Linked DNA regions of Homo sapiens: regions 1 and 2 are each linked to region 3. Evidence: promoter capture Hi-C in human tissues and cell types (Jung and others, 2019). All regions are on one chromosome and are shown on one strand. The core of a region is centred on a gene start or on the middle of the fragment in contact, and the rest is flanking DNA. Distances in the headings are between cores, read along the strand shown.

The links. The method cuts DNA at HindIII sites, captures the fragments that hold promoters and counts their contacts. A contact is called where the count stands out against the background at its distance.
Region 1: a fragment that was not itself captured here is called in contact with the fragment with the promoter of FRRS1 in region 3 in 2 of the 25 tissues and cell types used here (H1 embryonic stem cells and spleen).
Region 2: a contact is called between a fragment that was not itself captured here and the fragment with the promoter of FRRS1 in region 3, in 2 of the 25 tissues and cell types used here (H1 embryonic stem cells and adrenal gland).

Annotation. Positions count from the first base shown.
Region 1 is chr1:100,080,577-100,084,116 of GRCh38, reverse strand. It overlaps SLC71A1 (solute carrier family 71 member 1), which reads right to left. Exons shown (of 12, transcript NM_033055.3): 11 at 3,458-3,540; 12 at 740-2,114. The coding sequence ends at 1,908. SASS6 (SAS-6 centriolar assembly protein) reads left to right here. Exons shown (of 17, transcript NM_194292.3): 17 at 1-547. Among named protein-coding and RNA genes, the nearest start is that of SLC71A1, 44 kb to the right of the region's middle. The HindIII fragment of the contact is 4,296 bases long and covers 1-3,540 here.
Region 2 is chr1:100,161,741-100,165,342 of GRCh38, reverse strand. The region is part of intron 3 of LRRC39 (leucine rich repeat containing 39); the gene reads left to right. Among named protein-coding and RNA genes, the nearest start is that of LRRC39, 15 kb to the left of the region's middle. The HindIII fragment of the contact is 7,164 bases long and covers 1-3,602 here.
Region 3 is chr1:99,764,592-99,768,204 of GRCh38, reverse strand. FRRS1 (ferric chelate reductase 1) reads left to right here and starts at 1,570. Exons shown (of 17, transcript NM_001361041.2): 1 at 1,570-1,598. The HindIII fragment of the contact is 12,687 bases long and covers 1-2,558 here.

The DNA.
Region 1 (3,540 bases), core at 153-2,652, 320 kb before region 3:
GCAATTGCAAGTGTCTTTAAACTAGGGATCTAATCTGAAAATTCAGTAACTAATATTAGGCAGTTGATACTCCCCCACCTCCCCCATTTAGATACACTACTGTATTAGTGAGAATACTTGGTACAGTAACTTGAAAGCACTTGCTATTCTGGAAAGAAGCCTCTTGGTGATTTTGGAAGGAGCTTTATTGTAAATACTATGGAAGGGGCTTTGTTGTAAATACTATGTAATATATATAAAATATTGTGACATGTTTTGGATGGGATGCATGACATACAGGTAGCTCTCTTTTTTAAAATATAGGTATCTCTTTGCATATATATACACAAGGAAAGTTGAATTTTCAGGAGAGATCATTCTGATATCTTGCAAATTTGTATTAAATGTATACAGACTTCCAAGTGTGCTAATTCTTTACCTCCTAAACTTTTAGTTGCAATTGTTTTGCAGTGTAAAATTGTACATGTGTTAATAATCAAAAAGTGTTGCATTTAATGTTATTTCTGTAAACTTTGAGCTTTGTTAATAAACTATTATGCAGCATCTACACTTTGAAAATCAAGTACTTCAAAACGCATACTGCATTTTTGTTTCTTTCCTCTTGTCTTCCTTGAAGAGCATTTTTTAGTGAGGGAAAAGAAATGGATGCAAAGAAAGAATGAATAATGCTTTGATTTGTTACTGTAAAAATATGGTAACAAAGCCAAAACAGACCCTGTAGGAACTCACAGATCAAGACTTTTTTAAAAAAAAAATCATTAAAATATTTAACTTTATTAACAGAATATTTACATTTCTTTTAAGACCTTATTTAACCATAGTGAGTGTTCCAAGTTTAAAAAGCATTAAGCAATAACCACACACAAGATGAAAACAGTGTAAACTATACAGTTCTTTATATACAATTTTTACAAAGTAACACTTTTTTAAATAATATAACTGGACACAAAAATATACACTTTAGAGAAATTCACATCGGTAATTGTATAAAGCTCTCCTCTAGGGTCCTGAAAATTTAGGACAAACATTAGCTCTGTAAATAAAGTGTTACTGTGACAGTCCTGAAAGGCCACTATATATATTTATCTACATAATAGATATCACACTGACATTTTCAAGGCTACCAGCTTTACTATATAATTTTTAGATTATGTATTCAAGTGTTGAGGTGCTTATGATTATGCAAACATTAAAAGAATAGTGGTATAAGAAGTAGCTGGGGAATAAATTTGAGCCAGCATTTAGATTACAGGCTCTAAATACCCCAACTTAAATGCTAAATGGCTGATACTTTCTCACTTCAAAAACAGTAGTGAATAATGTTTAAAAGTACTGCAAACAAGCTCAAAACATGATTCAGATTTAGTACAGTTTTCTTAAGAGTTTTTTTTTTTAAATGCAAACAATTCATTTACCATTTCTTTGTTTTAGTGCATCTGCATTAAGGCTTTGAATTATTTGACCCAAGATTTTACAATATTAAAATCTGACTCAAAATTTTACAATGTTAAAACAAATAGGTCCACAACCATACTACCTACTGTGTCTCACTGAGTCAGCATAGAGTTAAAGCTCAACACCTTAAGGAAATGGTAGCAGAGACATTTGCTAATATCTAAGAAGTTACATATATAGTTTTTAATTAAAGGATGTATAATAAAACAAATAGCTTAGTGGCAAGAAATTGGTGCTAATAAACAAAAGGTTTTTCAAAAGAAATTGTAACATCTTTGGAAAACTGTCTGGTTCTAAGTTCCCACTTCCTTTAGTTCCCACGGAGTTCATGCAGATACATTTCTTAAGACAATCTTAAAGTACACTGTGGATGGAAATGGAATGTACATCCAGAACTAGAGGTGAAAACTAAGACCTGGGTGCTGATAGAAAAATCTTCCTGATTTCAGTCGTCACACATTTGTGTCCTGGAGTAAAGGTTCTTTGGCCTCTCCTGGCGCTTGTGTATTATGAGGATGGCTGTGACTGCCACAGTGCTTTCTCCAACTGCTGGACCTTAAGCTTAAATTGGTATGTTCCGGAATAAACAAGGCAACAAGCAGAGCCAGCAGTACTGAACAGGCTCCAAATAGGAAGGGAGGGCCAGGGATGATGGAATTCTGAGGAAGAATAAAGTAATTAGGATTTTTACACAAATACTTTTACTCATAAGGAGAAACTACATACCTTTTAGTATTAACTTATGAATTACAAGCTAATTGCTCTTCTCTTTATTAAAGCCATAATTATAAAAGGCATTCCCTTTTTAGGAGAAAAGAGATACTATCACATTCTCTATAAAATTCTGGGAATAACAACTGGCAAAACAGCCTATGCGAAAATATTACATCATTACTTTCAGCACAAAATGTGAACACAGCTATTCTATGATTAATTTGTTAGTCCAAGGGGAAAACGTTTATAGAAAGATCTCAAAAATAAAATCAGGCTGCACGTGTTGGCTCAAGCCTGTAATCCCAGCACTTTGGGAGGCTGAGGCAGGCAGATCACTTGAGGTCAGGAGTTCGAGACCAGCCTGGCCAACATGGTGAAACCTCGTCTCTACTAAAAATACAAAAAAAATTAGCCGGTCATGGTGGCATATGCCTGTAATCCCAGCTACCCGGGAGGCTGATGTTAAAAGAATCGCTTGAACTTGGGAGATAGAGGTTGCAGAGAGCCAAGATTGTGCCACTGCATTCCAGCCTGTGTGACAGAGTAAGACTGTCTCAGAAACAACAAAAAACAAAATAAAATCAGGTAGCATACAGTATTTACTACAGTAGCAAAATAAATTACCATTTCTTTGTTTCAAGAAGGTAATTATAATTTCAAGTGACTGGAAGTGAGAAAAACACAGGTTACCAAGAAAAAGAGACCTTTGTTTTAGCCCAAAATTACATTCATTCTTAGCAGAAGCTTGCACTGCCAGTTTTGTGTATAGCCCACAAACATTCTTTTATTTAAAAGTAGTCTTAGTGGGTTGGAAGATAAGTACAGAACTCTGCTAAATAAGCCAGGAAACTGATGAGCTGCTAATATTGGCCAAAATGATCAGCATTGTTTGGCATTAATTTTCAGTTGAAAAGAGGGAAATATAGCAAACAGTGAACAAAGGTTATTTACCATAAGCCTGCCTTTTGTATGAAAAGTTAGTTAACATACACAACTGTGATATTAGAAAAGTTTCAAAAGAGACTAGTAGTAAAGAGAAATGGTTTGTTACATATGCCATTGACAAACTAGGTACTTAAAATTTTTCATTCTCAAGTGGAAAAAAAATATGCACAGCCAATTTTCACAAGGTGGTATGTAGAAGAACACAGTCCCTTAAACTCTGGTTTTTAAGCATTTTATCCAATCTCAAATAGAATCTCACATAAAAGCTTTCATGACCAAAAACCAGTAGCCTTTAATCTAGCCAAATGAACCATACAATTTGATCATGTTGAATGAGAATTACCTGTTCAAAGTGGTGCTGAGGGCTTGTGTTTGTTCCCAAGTCTGTTCCTGTTATTGGCAGTTCTTTAAGTTCCACATGGAATA
Region 2 (3,602 bases), core at 724-3,223, 400 kb before region 3:
TGAGTGTGCAGTCTTGCCCTTTCTTACTGCTTGTTCTTTTTTGGCATCATCTATTTTATGATTAGGGAGGAGGATTCTCTGTTAGCAAAATGTAATTTCCAAAAGTTAAGTTAGACCAAAATCAGCTTCTACTTTTAGAAACATTACATGGAATTTGTGTAATGTAGTTTTTCAAAGCACCTTTCCCTTAATCTTAAAACAATTACATTGTAAAATCATTGTACAGTATTATAAAGCTTGGATTGTGGTTAAAATTAAGTATAAACTACTTTAAAAGTAAATTATATAGAGATCAAAGGTTAGGTTTAAAACCTGTAATATGACTAAATAAATAATTTTCCAGGTATGCTGGCTTGTGCCTGTAATCCCAGCACTTTGGCAGGCTGAGGTAGGAGGATTTCTTGAGCCCAACGAGCTTGAGACCAGACTGGGCAACATAGCGAGACCCCATCTCTAAAACAAAAAGTTAGCTGGGCGTGGTGGCATGCACCTGTAGTCCCCGTTACTTGGGAGGCAGAGGGGTGAGGCGGGAGGATCAATTGTGCCCTGGAGGTCAAGGCTGCAGTAAGTTACAATCACACCCACTGCACACCAGCCTGGGTGTCAGAGCAAGACACTGTCTCATTTAAAAAAAAAAGAAAAAAATTAATAAATAAACAATCATAACTGACGCAAAATGGTAAGAATCTGAGAGACCTTTTAAAGTGAGACAGAGAAGCTGATTACCAGAGAAAAGGCTAACTGGAAAATTCATAGAAATTTAAAACCAACCAAAGGTAACCCAAAGAAATGTCCTTACTTTTTTACTCTGCTCTGAAATAGACCAGTGTTTCTCAAACTTGTCTGCGTAGGAATCCCATAGGGATCTTATTTAAAATAGCTTCTGGGTTAGTAAGTCTGGAGTAGGACCAAGAGTCTGGATCTCTAACAAGCTCCCAGGAGACAATGATGCTGCTGTTCTGCAAATCACACTGAGTGGCAAGGAAGTAGACAAAAGAAGCAGATTTGAAAGGGGTCAGTACACAGGCAAGGGGTAAGAAGGGTAAGAATGTAATCTAATGCTGCTTCGTTCAGCTAAATTGGCTAGAGCTTTAGCTAAAAAATGAAAGAAAAAAAGCCTACAGTTTAAACAGAAATTGTGTTTTCTCCCTTTTGATGCCAAGCTCCTTGAAAAAATCAAGTACTTAGGTAACGATTGGTGTGGCAATATCAGAAAAAGGCCTTATTCTACAATAAAATTTGTAGAATCAAATTTTATTTTGTTTTTTTAGAGACAGAGTCTCACTCTGTCACCCAGGCTGGAGTGTATTGGCGCAATCTTGGCTCACTGCAACCTCTGCCTCCTGGGTTCAAGTGATTCTCCTGCCTCAGCCTCCTGAGTAGCTGGGATTACAGGCCCACAACACCATACCCAGCTAATTTTTGTATTTTTAGTGGAGACAGGGTTTTATCATGTTGGCCAGGCTGGTCTCAAACTCCTAACCTCAAGTGATCCATCTGCTTTAGCCTCACAAATTGTTAGGATTACAAGCGTGAGCCACCACGCCCGGCCTCAAAAGGGTTTTAGAAGAGTTATAAAATTTCGATTAGAGACCTGAAAGAATATCAAGATTAAAATAAGCAGCTTCACACCTGTAATCCCAGTGCTTTGGGAGGCTGAGGCAGGAGGATTGCTTGAGCTTAGGAGTTCGAGACCAGACTGGGCAACATGGAGACAGCCTTTCTCAATTTTTTTTTTTTTTTTTTTAGAAAAAGCTGTATAGGAATTATAGAATATTTAAGCTGGAAAATACATAGATATCATTTAATTATAACCTCACATTTTATAGGTAAGGCCCACAGATGGGGGATGTCTTGCTCAAGGTAACCAAATTAATAAATCGTATATTCTGGACTTAGATCATAAAAACACAGAACCAGAAAGAATTTAGCGATCTTTACAGAGATGGAAATAGATTTTTCTAATAATAGCCTGACCGTGAACTCAGTAACAACAGAGCTTTTTGTATCTCCAATGTCTAGTACTTGGCTATAATGGTTACTGGATTAATTCCTTAAGTTAAAGGTCAAGGGATAAGATTCCTAATTTACTTGTTACTAAATCTTGCTCTGAATTTCATTTCTGTCTTAGTAATAATAACCATTAAGCCCATTGTTTGAATAGTTCTATTTTTATAATAAGTAATATAATTGAATAGCTGACATTATACATTTTTTCTTAGTTACCCACATCTATGGGAAGCTTAGCTGTTTAGATCAGAAGGCCACACATATCCCACTGCCACAGGGCACCTGTTAGCAGATTAAATTTTAGGCAAGTGATAGATCAAAATACACAGATACTAAGAGAGGTATTTTACAAACCCAAATACTTAAAGACAGCAAATTCAACACTTTGTTTACTTTTGGCTTTCTGTTCATTAAAATAAAATCCTTATTGAAGATCAGTTAATATACAAAACTGCTAAAATTATGTATTAACTCTCAGAATGTCAAGAGATTTCTGGCAAACAAATATTCAAATTAGTTAAACTTCATGCTTTCAGGACTGCTCATATTTATTATGTATCCTTTTAACAGCCTAAAATTTTCAAAATTTTCAATTCTAAACTTACTCTCTTTTTCATGAGTGAAGAATTTTCTGGGATAGAAATAGCTTTTTGCAAAAGGTTTTCCAGTTTCTTTTCTTTCTTTTTTTTTTTCTGGAGACCGAGTCTTGCTCTGTCGCCCAGGCTGGAGTAAAGTGGTGCAATCTTGGCTCACTGCAACTTTGCATCCCAGGTTCAAGCAATTCTCCTGCCTTATCCTTCCTAGTACCTGGGACTCCAGGCACGCATCACCACACCCAGCTAATTTTTGTATGTTTAGTAGAGATGGGGTTTCACCATGTTGGCCAGGATGGTCTCGAACTCCACCTGCCTCAGCATTCCAAAAGTGCTGGGATTACAGGTGTGAGCCACCGTGCCTGGCCGGTTTTCCAGTTTCTAGTTTGCATTTTTCTAGTTTGAGATCATTCTTATGTTTGCAATAGATCAAAAATCAACAGGAATGTGCTTCAAATGACAAAGATTTTATACATTTTTATATGTAAAAAGTAAAGACTAGATAAAATTAACATGTAGTAAGATGAAATTGAATTCTGAAGTTGAACTGTATTCTTTGCAAGCCATTACAAAGTCTATTAAATATCTATAGATTACTCACCAGGAAAACGCAAATCAAACCCACAATCGGATACCATTCGCACCCACTAGATGGCTATAATAAAAAAGAGGGACAATAGCAAATATTGGTGAGGATGTGAATAAATCAGAACCTTGATATGCCACTGGTGGGAATGTAAAATGGTGCAACCATTTTGGAAACAGCATGGCAGTTTCTGAAAATGTTAAACATAGCCAGGCACAGTGGTTCACGCCTGTAATCCCAGCACTTTGGGTGGCCAAGGCAGGCGGGTTGCTTGAGTTTAGGGGTTTGAGACCAGCCTGGGCAACATGGCAAAACCCTGTCTCCACAAACAATACAAAAATTAGCTGGGCGTGGTGGAGCATGCCTGTAGTCCCAGCTACTCAGGAGGCTGAAGTGGGAAGATCACCTGTGCC
Region 3 (3,613 bases), core at 321-2,820:
CTGTCCTTGTTCATTCCTGGGCATATGCCAAACTAACTTTGGGAAGGAATCCAGTTCATGTTTTGACTCTGAAACAAAATTGGTAGTAGCCCTTTCCTGAATAGACCCCCTTCTTGCCTGGGGACCAGTCTGCCTTTGCAGGACCAACAAATTAGCTACAAGATTAGAAATTATGGTTTAGGGGTCATGCAGCCTCTGGCTCCAAGAGTCTGAACCTCCCCAAATTGCTCCTGGGGATAACATCACTATTGTAAAACCTAAGATCAGTGCTTGAGATATTTTGCAGAGCCTGGACTCGGTGGATCAGCTGATGCCACACAGACCGGTAATTGGGCTCACCCAGTTCTGCCATCCCACCCAGGAACAGAAGACAGCAAGAAAACCTCACGTCGACCCCCCATGATTCCATCTCCAATCTGACCAATTAGCACTCCCACTTCCCAAGCCCCTACCCGCCAAATTATCTTTAAAAATTCTGATCTCCGAATCCTGGGGAGACTGTGTTGAGTAATAATAGAACTCCGGGCTGGGCGCGGTGGCTTATGCCTGTAATCTCAGCACTTTGGGAGGCTGAGGCAGGTGGAATCACTTGAGGTCAGGAGTTCCAAACTAGCCTGGCCAACATGGTGAAACCCTGTCTCTGCTAAAATACAAAAATTAGCCGGGCGTGGTGGCGGGCGCCTGTAGTCCCAGCTACTGGGGAGGCTGAGGCAGGAGAATCGCTTGAACCTAGGACGGGGAGGCTGCAGTGAGCCGAGATCATGCCACCGCACTCCAGCCTGGGCCACAGACAGAGACTCCGTCTCAAAACAAAACAAAACAAAACAAACAAACAAACAAAACAAAAAACTCCGGTCTCCTGCACAGCCAGCTCTGCGTGAATTACTCTTTCTCCATTGCGATTCCCCTGTCTTGATAAATCGGCTCTGTCTAGACAGCGGGCAAGGTGAACCCACTGGGCAATTACAATGTCACTCAAGGTCTGAAATGGAATGTTTAATATTTTCAATTACATTAAAGAGAAGAAAAAAAGTAAAAAACAGGAAAACAAAAAACAAAATAAAAACAAAGATTGTTAAAAATTCAATTACATTGTCTTTTCCTAGCCCTAAAATTTTTCTTTTGCAAAAGAGTCTTGTGAAACAGATTAAAGGCTTAAAAAGAAACAAAACTCCTAAATTTCAGGGGTAATTTGCAAAATAAAAGATTTCTTTTGCATTATATCATTCACACTGCAGAAAGGTTTCGGTTCTATGCAATCTGATCTTTTTCCACTTTTTAAAAGTTAATTTGCTTTTACTTAGCACTATTATAGAACAGGTATTTTCAAATAGTTTTGCAATTAAACACAAAAACTATAATTTTTGTGGCGAAGTAGGTACTAGTTGGCAAACACTGTTCCTTAGTGTAAAACAGAATTCTAAGTTTTCAGAAATGGAGTCCTAAAACTAGCACTGGTCTTGCAAATCAAGTTCTGCAGCTTAGTTTGGGAAAGGTTCCCTTTTGGCTCAAGGCTTAACTGGCTCCACCCAGCTGCTGAAATGTGATACAAGTTGTAACAAAACCGGAAGTTGGTTAGGCTGCCTTCGCTTCTCAAGGTAAGTGTCACGTCTTTTTCCTTAATGTCAAAGCTCTTTGTAAAGCGTTAAAAATCAAATCCAGCTTAGCGACAGACTGGAGAGCGAGTGCCTGTGCTGACCAGGGCAGTCGGCCAGGCAGAACGGGTGCTGTATTCCGAAACTATGTTCTGGAGCTTGAATTGAGCTAATGAGTGTTCACTAACGAGTTAGGTTAATATGTCCTGTGACTTTGACTAACAAGCTTTAATTCCAAGATATGGGTGGTTATAAGTAGAGACGTGTTTGGGATCCTGAAAATCATTGACTTTATTCTTGCAGGAGTTTTTTTTTTGTTTTTAATTTTAAATTTAAAACTGTAGGAACTCTTTTTTTATATTTAAAGCTAGTGGCATGGTTACCTATATCAGGGTCACTTAGAACCTTATTTGGTTTTTAAAGTGGCTTTTTATCTAGAACTTTTAGTCCCCTTACCCTCCCACTCCCTAGCCCTGGTGTGTCGTTAAAATTTCAGAAAGACTCCAGGGTGGCAAGGTGTTATCACTGCACTTATTTTTGTGTGTGCTTGTCATACTGCCCTAAAGGGTAAAGGGGATTTTTCAAATTGTAAATGTGTTATTAGGAATATTTCTTAACATAGCTAAACTTTTCAGTTCAGATATTTTCATTTGCTTCTGTATTTTTATTTTTTATTTTTATTTATTTATTTATTCATTTATTTTTGAGACGGAGTCTCGCTCTGTCCGCCAGGCTGGAGTGCAGTGGCGCGATCTCGGCTCACTGCAAGCTCCGCCTCCCGGGTTCAAGCGATTCTTCTGCTTCAGCCTCCTGAGTATACTGCTGGGATTACAGGCGCCCGCCACCACGCCCGGCTAATTTTTTGTATTTTTAGTAGAGACGGGGTTTCACTGTGTTGGCAAGGATGGTCTCTATCTCCTGACCTCGTGATATGCCCGCCTCCGCCTCCCAAAGTGCTGGGATTACAGGCTTGAGCCACCGCGTCTGGCCTATTTATTTATTATTTTCGAGACGGAGTGTTGCTCTTGTGGCCCAGGCTGGAGTGCAACGGCGGGATTTCGGCTCACTGCAACCTCTGCCTCCCGGGTTCAAGCAATTCTCCTGCCTCAGCCTCCTGAGTAGCTGGGATTACAGGCAGGCACCACCACACCCGGCTAATTTTGTATTTTTAGTAGAAACGGGGTTTCTCCATGTTGGTCAGTCTGGTTTCGAACTCCCAGCGTCAGGTCATCTGCCTGCCTCGGCCTCCCAAAGTGCTGGGATTACAGGCGTGAGCCACCGCGCCCAGCCACTTCTGTATTTTTAAAAAAGTGGTAAGATTTGAGTATTATACTGGGATAGAACTGAAGTTGGGGGCTTAATTTGATCTATCAGCTTATTGAAAACAAAGACCTTTTAAGAGATGGTTTTGTTAGGTTGGAGAAGTGAGTTTTAGTTCGTCATTTAGTTAGCCAGTATGTTGATTTTTTTGGTGAAGTGTACTCTCTGTTTCACACCTGTCAGCTTTTTTAATATTGGATTTTCTCAAAATTCACATAACAATCACACTGTATGAGTACTGTTTTGAAGGTTGTCTGCTAGTCAGAATGAATGGAGATCAATGTGTAGGACACCTTTACTGATATCCAGAGGTTTACCAAAAGACAAGTCACCAAATGTGGCAGAAAAACATGATAAAATTTATTAGGAAAAACTAAAGCTTATGGAGTGAACAGTTATTTCAGGTTGGTGGAATTAGGCAAGAATCCAAGAAAGGAAGACAGTTTTATATGGGAGACTTTGTTAATGGTGGTCATTGTGCTAGATATTTTGGAGATAGTATTTTATTTAATCCTCATGCAAGCCATTGATATTGGTGGCATTGTCTCTAACAAGTGAGAAAACTAAGACTCAGTAAGGTTAAATAATTTGTCCAGGGTCACTATGGTGGTGCCTGCTGGATTACATTAATGGACAGATTCAAACCTAGGTCTGTGATATTTCAAAGTCCATACACTTCATTGTATCATAGGACAGTA